Linked DNA regions of Homo sapiens: region 1 is linked to region 2. The links are contacts of gene promoters, found by promoter capture Hi-C in human tissues and cell types (Jung and others, 2019). All regions are on one chromosome and are shown on one strand. Each heading gives the region's core, a stretch centred on a gene start or on the middle of the fragment in contact. The rest is flanking DNA. Distances are from core to core; before and after follow the strand shown. Region 1 has its middle 39 kb from the start of MAS1. Region 2 holds the start of PNLDC1 (PARN like ribonuclease domain containing exonuclease 1).

The links. Contacts are between HindIII fragments. The study calls those that stand out against the background at their distance.
Region 1: a fragment that was not itself captured here is called in contact with the fragment with the promoter of PNLDC1 in region 2 in 1 of the 25 tissues and cell types used here (aorta).

What each region holds. Positions count from the first base shown.
Region 1 is chr6:159,927,284-159,932,239 of GRCh38, reverse strand. No RefSeq gene overlaps it. Among named protein-coding and RNA genes, the nearest start is that of MAS1, 39 kb to the right of the region's middle. RefSeq lists enhancers at 227-396, 657-736. The HindIII fragment of the contact is 6,602 bases long and covers 331-4,956 here.
Region 2 is chr6:159,797,178-159,801,798 of GRCh38, reverse strand. PNLDC1 (PARN like ribonuclease domain containing exonuclease 1) reads right to left here and starts at 1,523. Exons shown (of 19, transcript NM_001271862.2): 1 at 1,416-1,523; 2 at 970-1,027; 3 at 613-686. The coding sequence starts at 1,491. MRPL18 (mitochondrial ribosomal protein L18) reads right to left here. Exons shown (of 4, transcript NM_014161.5): 3 at 4,281-4,512; 4 at 3,370-3,747. The coding sequence ends at 3,676. The HindIII fragment of the contact is 11,703 bases long and covers 1-4,621 here.

The DNA.
Region 1 (4,956 bases), core at 2,382-4,881, 130 kb before region 2:
AAGTGCTGGGATCTCTGAAGTGCAATCTGATGATGCTGGTGCTGCCTGTGCTGGAACAACTGCAAAGTGGCCTCAGCTGCTGCTACGGAAGGACTTCCAGCTGCGAGGGTGAAGAAGCATGGCTGGAGGAAGATCGTTAAGATGAGAATCACAGGATCACAAGCAGACATGGATCCCATAGGGAGCAAGCAGAAAGGAGTGTGTTCCCTTTCCTCCTCCTCCAGCCTTCTCTCTTGAGCCCCCTGTTAGCAAAACCTAAGAGAGAGCCAGTGGCATAGCAGACATGTTTGCAGAGCCTTAGCTCGAGCATCACACAGCTGAGCATAGACAGCTGCTTATTGAGGGATAACATAATAACTGGCACAGTGGACTTACTTTGCCCCCTGAGCTTGTGCTTATCTTTTCCAGCTTAGTTCATTTATTCACTAAACCTTGAGCTAGATGTCAGGTGCTAGTCTAGATTGGAGGATATGATACTAACAAGATGGGCATAATCCCTGTCCTGGGACTTCAGTCAACCTTGACTTTTTTTTCAGTCTTTCACTTTTCTAATAGATTCCAGCCTCTGGCTCCACCCCTGCTGCTGTGCAACCCACTGTGTTGTTCTTGTCTTTTTATTATATATAAAATATACATAACATAAAGTATACATAACATAAAATGTACCATCTTAACTATTTTTAATGTACCATTCAGTGGCGTTAAGGACATTCACGTTGTTGTAAAACTGTCTTCATCATCCATCTCCAGAACTCTTTTTCATCTTGAAAAAATGAAACTCAGTAATGATTAAACTCTCACTCCCCACTTCCTCCTCCCTCCAGCCTCTGGCAACCAGCATTCTACTTTCTGTCTCTATGCATTTGAGTACTCCAGGGACCTCATATAAGTGGAGGCATACAGCATTTGTCCTGTTATGACTGGCATATTTCACTTTGCATATTGTCCTCAAGGTTCATCCATGTCATAGCGTGTGTCAGAACTTCCTTTCTAAGGCTGAATAATATTCCATTGTATATTTCACATTTTGCTGATCCATTCACTCGTTGACACGTGTTTGGTTTGTTTGCACCTTTTGGCTACTGTGAATAATGCTGTTATGAACATTGATGTATAAGTATGTGTACAAGTCCGTGCTTTCAGCTCTTTTGGGTATATGCCTATGAGTAAAACTGGTTGTTCATATGGTAATTCTATGTTTAACTTTTTGAGAAACCACTCCATGTGTTCACAGCAACCATACCGTTTTACATTCCCACCAGCAACTGGTATCTATGAGGGTTCCGATTTCTCCACATCCATGCCAACATTTGTTATTTTTCTTCTTTAATAACAGCCACAGGTGTGAAGTGGCCCACTGTGGGCTCTGGCATAAATTTAGCCTGAACACATCAAGTTTCTGCACAGTGTCCTTATTGAGACAGTGCCTCAGTTGTCACCCTTGTAGCCTTTTTTCAGCCCAGGCTTTCTCTCCTTTTCCAAACCAGTTTGTTTTTATTGGCTTTTGGAAGTTTCACCAGTTCTCAGAGAGAAGGTTTGTATTCTTTTGATAGAATGAGCTTAATGAAATGTCATAAGATCAGAGATGCAGAAAGAAACCAAGAAAGAGCTTTTTACTTTGATGTGTAGGAGTGTGAACACTGATGGGGCAGGAGCCCTTTCCAGTCTCATCTGGAGGCACAGCAGCAGGGGTGGCCTGGGCCCCAGTAGCAACTGCAGCATTGGCTACCAGTGGGCCAGTTGGGTACCAACCTGAATGTCCAATAACTGGACAAACATACTATGACCATAGAGTGTAATTTCATGCTAGCATTAAATATGCTTCAAAAACATATTTAATGACACAGGAAAGGCATATGACTTAACTTAGGTGCAAAAACCTGAATACAAAGCAGTAATGATGTTCAATATTATAAACATGCCCTTTAAAAGACTAAGAAAAAGTACATCAAAGTGTTAGCACTTATCTATGATATAGGTCACTTTTAAGTCTCTATTTTCCTGTTCCCAGATGATTTATGATAAGCATTTCACATATTTTAATCAGAAAACAAGAAAAACATTTTTAAGCAAACACACCAGTGGCTGTAGTGGGTGCACTAAACTGGCTGCTAGCCAGGGAAAGCACGTGGAACCGCCTGGAACTCTGCCAGGGAAAATCCAGAACGGGGATGGTGGCCGAGAGGATTCAGCTATTTTTATAACTGCTGCCACCGTTACCTGAGCCCTCGCTTCCCTCTCCAGCCTGGTGTGGTGTAGACAAGCAAGGGTGACAAAGAGTTTACAGCAAACATACAACCGCAAGCTCATTGCCACCTCGTAATAGAAAGAACCCCAGAATTAGGGAAAGCACCATTAGCTACTGAGATGTTTACTGATGAAAGACTCTCCTCTTTTTCCTCCATAGCAGTTATATAAATGAGCCAGACGTGGCCTCGTGTGTTGGCCTACAATGTTGTTTAGGCCTTCACAGCAGGCTAGACCACTAGCTCAAAGCCCACTGGCACCAAACTCAAATTCTTCCACATTGATTGCTTTAAATATAGTCCAGAGAAATCTATTTTTGGCAATTTGGAGCCTACCTACTTTACATAGCCCACAAAACTGTGCCCAACATCTGCTAAGCCACAGGTAAGATGAACCTTGTTCCTATGAACTACGCTGTATTAGTCTTTATATTAACATAATGTCATATATGTACATACATGATAGAATGTATATACAGTCATGTGTCACTTAACTACAGGGCTATGTCATTAGGCGATTTTGTCATTATGCAAACATCAGAGTGAAGGGTATTTTAAAAGTTATTTAAGTGGTACACCTGTACAGGGCACTTACCACGAATGAAGCCTGCAGGACTAGAAGTTGCTCTGATGTCAGTGAGTGAGTGGTGAGTGAATGTGAAGGCCTAGGACTGTACCGCACACTATGATAGACTTTATGAGCACTGTACACTTAGGGAACACTACATTTATTTCTTCAATAATAAATTAACCTTACTTTACTGTAACTTATTCACTTAATAAACTTTTTAATTTTTTTGTAACTTTTTGGCTCTCCTGTAATAATATTCAGCTTAAAACACAAACATACTGTACAGCTATACAAAATACTTTCTTTATATCCCTATTCTATAAGCTTTTTTCTATTAAAATTTTTTTTTCACTTTTTATTAAAGACTAAGACACAGACACACACATTAGCCTAGGCCCATGTAGGTTCAGGATCATCCATATCACTGTCTTCCAACTCCACATCTTGTCCCACTGGGAGGTCCTCAGGGGCAATAACATACATGGAGCTGTCGTCTCCTATGGTCACAATGCCTTCTTCTGGATGCCTCCTGAAGGGCCTGCCTGAGGCTGTGTTATAGTTAATTTTTTAATAAATAGGTGCACACTCTAAAATAACAATAAAAAGTATAGTATGGTAAATACATAAACCAGTAACATAGTTGCTTATTATCATTATCAAGTATTGTGTACTCTACATAACTGTATATGCTATACTATTATATGATTGCAGCTCAGTAGGCTTGTACACACAAGCAGCACCACAAACACATGAATCAAGTGTTGCATTACAACATTACAGAAGCAATGATGTCACCAAGCAATAGCGATTTTTCAGCTCCATTATAATCTTAAGAAATCACCATCATATATGAGGTCCATCATTGACCAAAATGTCATTATGCAGTGGATAACTGCACATATTCTAATATATTATATACACAGGTATCTATACATATATACACACACTATATATATTCTGTATGTGTACTCACACAATATATGTTATATAACATATATTTATATATATTTATATATGTTATATATATAATATTTATATATGTTATATATATAATATTTATATATGTTATATATATATAATATTTATATATGTTATATATATAATATTTATATATGTTATATATATAATATTTATATATGTTATATATATAATATTTATATATGTTATATATATAATATTTATATATGTTATATATATAATATTTATATGTTATATATAATATATAATATTTATATGTTATATATAATATATAATATTTATATGTTATATATAATATATAATATTTATATGTTATATATAATATATAATATTTATAAGTTATATATAATATATAATATTTATATATGTTATATATAATATATAATATTTATATATGTTATATAATATATAATATTTATATATGTTATATAATATATATTTATATATGTTACATATAATATATTTTATATATGTTACATATAATATATATTTATATATGTTACATATAATATATATTTATATATGTTACATATAATATATATTTATATATGTTACATATAATATATATTTATATATGTTACATATAATATATATTTATATATGTTACATATAATATATATTTATATATGTTACATATAATATATATTTATATATGTTACATATAATATATATTTATATATGTTACATATAATATATATTTATATATGTTATATATAATATATATTTATATATGTTATATATAATATATATTTATATATGTTATATATAATATATATTTATATATGTTATATATAATATATATTTATATATGTTATATATAATATATATTTATATATGTTATATATAATAATATAACATACAACATATATAAATATATGTTATAATTTATATTATAAATTATATAACATATATAACACATATAAATATATTTTTTTTAAGAGACAGAGTCTCGCTCTGTCACCCAGGCTAGTGTGCAGTGGCATGATCTTGGCTCACTGCAACCTCCACCTCCTGGGTTCAAGCAATTCTCCTGCCTCAGCCTCCCGAGTAGCTGGGATTACAGATACACACCACCACACCTGGCTAATTTTTGTATTTTTAGTAGAGATGGCATTTCACCATGTTGGCCAGGCTGGTCTTGAACTCCTGACCTCAAATGAT
Region 2 (4,621 bases), core at 274-2,773:
CCTTAAAAAAAATTATTTTTGTGTGTAAATTTTCTTAAGAAAAAAAAATCACAGGCCAGGTGTGGTTGCTCACGCTTATAATTCCATCACTTTGAGAGGCAGAGGCAGAAAGATTGCTCGAGCCCAGGAAGTCAAGAACAGCCTGGCCAACATGACGAAAACCCATCTGAACAAAAAATTTAAAAATTAGCTAGGTGTGGTGGTGAGCCTGTAGTCCCAGTTTACTCAGGAGGCTGACGTGCTAGTATCACTTGAGCCCAGGAAGTCTAGGCTGCAGTGAGCTAAGACTATGCTACTGCACTCCAGTCTTGGTGACAGAGCAAGACCCTGTCTCAAAAAATAAAATAAAAATCGCACACACACAGTTTTACTTGAAAGAGTAACAGTGAGTGTTCCTTAATACTGACTTATTTAAGCACGGAAACAATGCTGCTAAATTTGGTTTGCTCCGAAGTGTTGATTTCCATATGTATACAATGGCCCAACACAAAACAAGCATACAAAACGATACTCAATATCCTTGAAAAATCTCAGAGCTGTTTTTACAGTAGGAAATCCAAGGACAATAAAAATACCTTCTTGAAAAACTCTAACAGCTGATATTAAACTCACCAATCTGACAGACTGTAAATTGCTGAACACTCTGACGGGTCTTTAGATACCACTCCGATGGCAAATCAAAAAGACTGTGAACAAACAGGCATCTCATTCCACGAGCAATGACATCCCATCCCGGCACTATGGCCTCCGCGGCAGGACCACCACTCGCAACCGGGGAGGATTTTTTCCTTGTTACAACAACTAGGGAGCACTACCATCATTTAGTGGACAGAAAAAAGCAAGGTCCTCCAACACGTAGGAGCAAGCCACACAAAACGTCCTGCCCCCCAAATGCCAACAGGCTGCTGGCCAGAAACAGTGCTGGTCTGGCCAGGCTCTTATACAGAGGGGACACAGCTTTAGTTTTACCTGATCTGCTGGGGCCCAGACAGGTTAGAACGAAGGCCCGTGAACTCTATGTCCAGACCTGCCAGGAAGGCAAAAAATAGCAGTCCTCGGGTGCAGAACATCGCCAGCACTCCTCACACTGTAGATCTGCAGGCGGCCAAGGCACCCGCGCTCACCTCTGCGCTCAAGAAGCCAAGTGAGGTCAGGAAGGGAAAATGGAGGAACCAAGGCAAGGAGCAGCCAGGCACCTGGGCGCACGGGGCTCTGGCCAACAAGGGACGTGGGGCTCGGAGTGTACTTGCTGCTCAAAGTCCCACCGCCCCGGGGCTGGAGAAGGAAGCCCCCCTGTCCTTCCCGAGGCCCTCTCTGAGGCCCTGTGGCCTGGCAACCGTCCCGCCACCCCCTCCTCAAGCTCGCCCGGGGCAAGGGGCTCTGTCCGGCACAGCCGCGAATCCCAGGCTCTTCACCCACGAAGTCGGCCTCCTGGACGAGCTCCTGCAGCAGAGGGAGGCTCTCCTCGAACTCGTCGGCGCCCACGTCCATGGCCGTGCAGCTCCGCGGAGTCGCCCAGCGCTATCACGTGCTGCCCACGTGCTGCCCACGCGCTTCCGTCGCGCCGCCGGGTCTTAAAGGGCGCACACATGGAAACCAGGCAGCTGCCTCCGCCCCACGTGCCCAGCTTCCCCGTGTGCTGCTGGCGTCGCCCACACCTGCCTGCGGGTGTTTTAATTGTACGATTTGCTACAGAGGTTTGATTGCAATTGCAATCAAAGCCTGTTTACCTGGCTCCTCAGCAATTTCTTTGCAGCCCTTAACGTGAGAATGTCATTTACATGGACTTAGAATGTTAAGAGGCGTGGCAGGAGACGAAGACAGAGTCCAGAAAGGGTGAAATCAGAAAAGCGGAGCAGGAACAACACCGGACGCAACTGCAATAAGCAGATCCTTTGCTGCGGCTCACGGTCTTCTAAATCACCTCTTCCCAACTTCTCCATCACTGCCAGTATGTCTGTCCCCATTCCCTCTCCCACGCCCCTGGACATCTTTTTCCTCATTCTGCTGTCCACCTTACCACTGTCTTCACACCTGCAATCAAACTTTGCAAAGCCTCAAGAACTGCCCATTAAATTGAAGGAATCCTTGGTCCCCAGGGATTATCTCGTGCACTCACTCCTTGCGGAAATCCCTACCTACATCATCACATACATGTGAGCTTAATTTTTACTTTTGTTACTGTTTCCAGTGCAACTAGTCCATGGTCTTCCTTACAGTGTCCTCCCTTGAATTCTAGGCTTCTACTTGAACAGCGTTTTGGAACTATGGTCCTCAAAGTGAGGTGCTCAAATCAATCTTTAAGGTTAGCGGAGAAAACATTACCGTTATACTTTATTTTTTCCTTTTGAGACAGTCTCACTCTGTCACCCAGGCTGGAGTGCAGTGGTGCCATCTCGGCTCTCTGCAATCTCCACCTCCTGAGTTCAAGCGATTCTCCCGCCTCAGCCTCTGAACAGCTGGGATTACAGGCATGCACCACCACGCCCAACTCATTTTTGTTTTTAGTAGAGATAGGGTTAAACCGTATTGGCCAGGCTGGTCTCGAATTCCTGGCCTCAAGTGATCCACCTGCTTCAGCCTCCTAAAGTGGTGGGATTAGAGGTGTGAGGCACTGCATCCGATCTTCAATTATACTTTTAAATGCCTCTCCGGGACATTAATTAAGCAAAAGGGGACTATTAAGCCATTTGATTCTGAAGACCTCTCAGAACAAATCATACTTCATACAGATGTGTTCCATTTAAAATAACACATTGAATACTCAAATTGGCAGAAGTAACATATTTCACTTCTAAACAAACATTTAATTGGGGTATACATTAAAAAAACTGGAAAACAATGCTCTAGAAGCCACCTTAACTGCCTACAGGTTTTTTCTCACATTTATCAAATAGCCAAAAATTAACACCTTAATCAGCTCCTTTCAGAGAACTGCCATGATTCCCATCTACCCAAGCTCAAATTTTAGATTAACTTGCATGCATTTCAAGTTTCATCTCCTATCTAATAAAATGTTCACTTCATGGCAAATTGAGCGCCCACTAACCCCAACCATTTCCACCTCTGCTTTCAGCTCCTGATGCCACCTCCTTCCTCTTTCAAATTTGTTTCTCTTACTGTTGGGAACCAAGAGTCCAAGTGAGGTTGGCATTTGGTCCTTTCATTTTCACATACTGACTGTTCTATAGTATTAGATTGATACTGACATTTCCTATTTTAAAAAACAACCCACACTCCGAGCAGCAAACAACTGTCATTCACTGAGATCACTCGCCATGAACTAGACACAGTAATAAGTGCTTTACATCAACCTCATATGTGCTCCACTGCCACAGTGAGCTCAGACAATGTCATATAACCAGAAAATAAGAGTTCATAATATGCCTTTATTTTGTAATTTATAAACAACTTCTGACTTGCCCTTTGAAAGTTAATTATAATTGATGACTGCTTTTCTTAGATGCTTCTGAAGCCCAAGAGAGGGGCAGAACGTAGTTCTTGATTTAAAAAAACAGAAAGGGGAGGAGGATGACCTTAACTACAAATAATATTCCACTGCAACATTATTGCTGTAAAACTTCCAAGCTGGCTGTTCTTCCAGATGCTCTCTTTTGATGGCTGTAGTGGCTGACAGATTTATATTTACATGTTCAAAACAATTAATGCTTCCATTTATTCATAGATTCTCTGAGGTTCCCGTAGAACCACACCACCTTCTGTCATGGCACTTTGTAGTCGTTTCATCTGGTTTTGAAAATCAGAAAAAAAAGGAAAAGATTAAGTCAGCAGCACGAGTAGGCTGAAAATACTTTCACCTTCCAAAAGACAGAAATAAATTGATTTGTTCTTGCTAACTTCCCAGCCTACAACGGTTTTTCAGAAAGTGATCTTAATAATGATGTAAGTAAAAAGGAAATGTAGAGATGTCAAGGTTCAGCAGCATTTCAAAATATTATATGGACAAGATGTCAATATATGAACAGGAAATACAGTGGCTGACATCATGGACTACAGAATCAGTCACCCTGGGTTTGAAATCCACCATACACTGACTCTGGGCAAGTAAGCCTCAGTTTATTTCTGTATAGAATGAGAGTACTAGTCCCTACCCTATGGACTGATGTGAGGATTAAATGAAGTAACACTGTTGAGTACTCACCAAAGGGTCTGACACATGGAAAGTATTTGGTAAGTAAAAACTGTTATTATTATGTAAGTTATCTAATGCCAAGAATTAACACAATACCTTTTCAATAAGTACATGAAAACAAAAATACCGAGTCTGAGGCTGCCTCCCACGGGGTTGGTTGGTAGACCATGAAGTTGATTCCCGCCTCTAAGCATCTCTGTGCCAGCACTCGTCCTATACTCTCACAAGCCACCACATTTCTGGTACTATAAAGGTGCTTTTTAATAGCCCACTCACGAGTGGAGGCCGAAACCACAACCTTGCCATTCTGATGCTCCACAAGTGCTTCTACATGATGCTGAGTCCTTATAACTCGCAACCTAAATGGGGTGAGAAGATAATAAAATCACAGAAGAATCTGTATCCTAAAGTTACATTAATTGAGGTGAATAAATGACTAAATATTTTTCAACAATCCAGTGTTTGGTT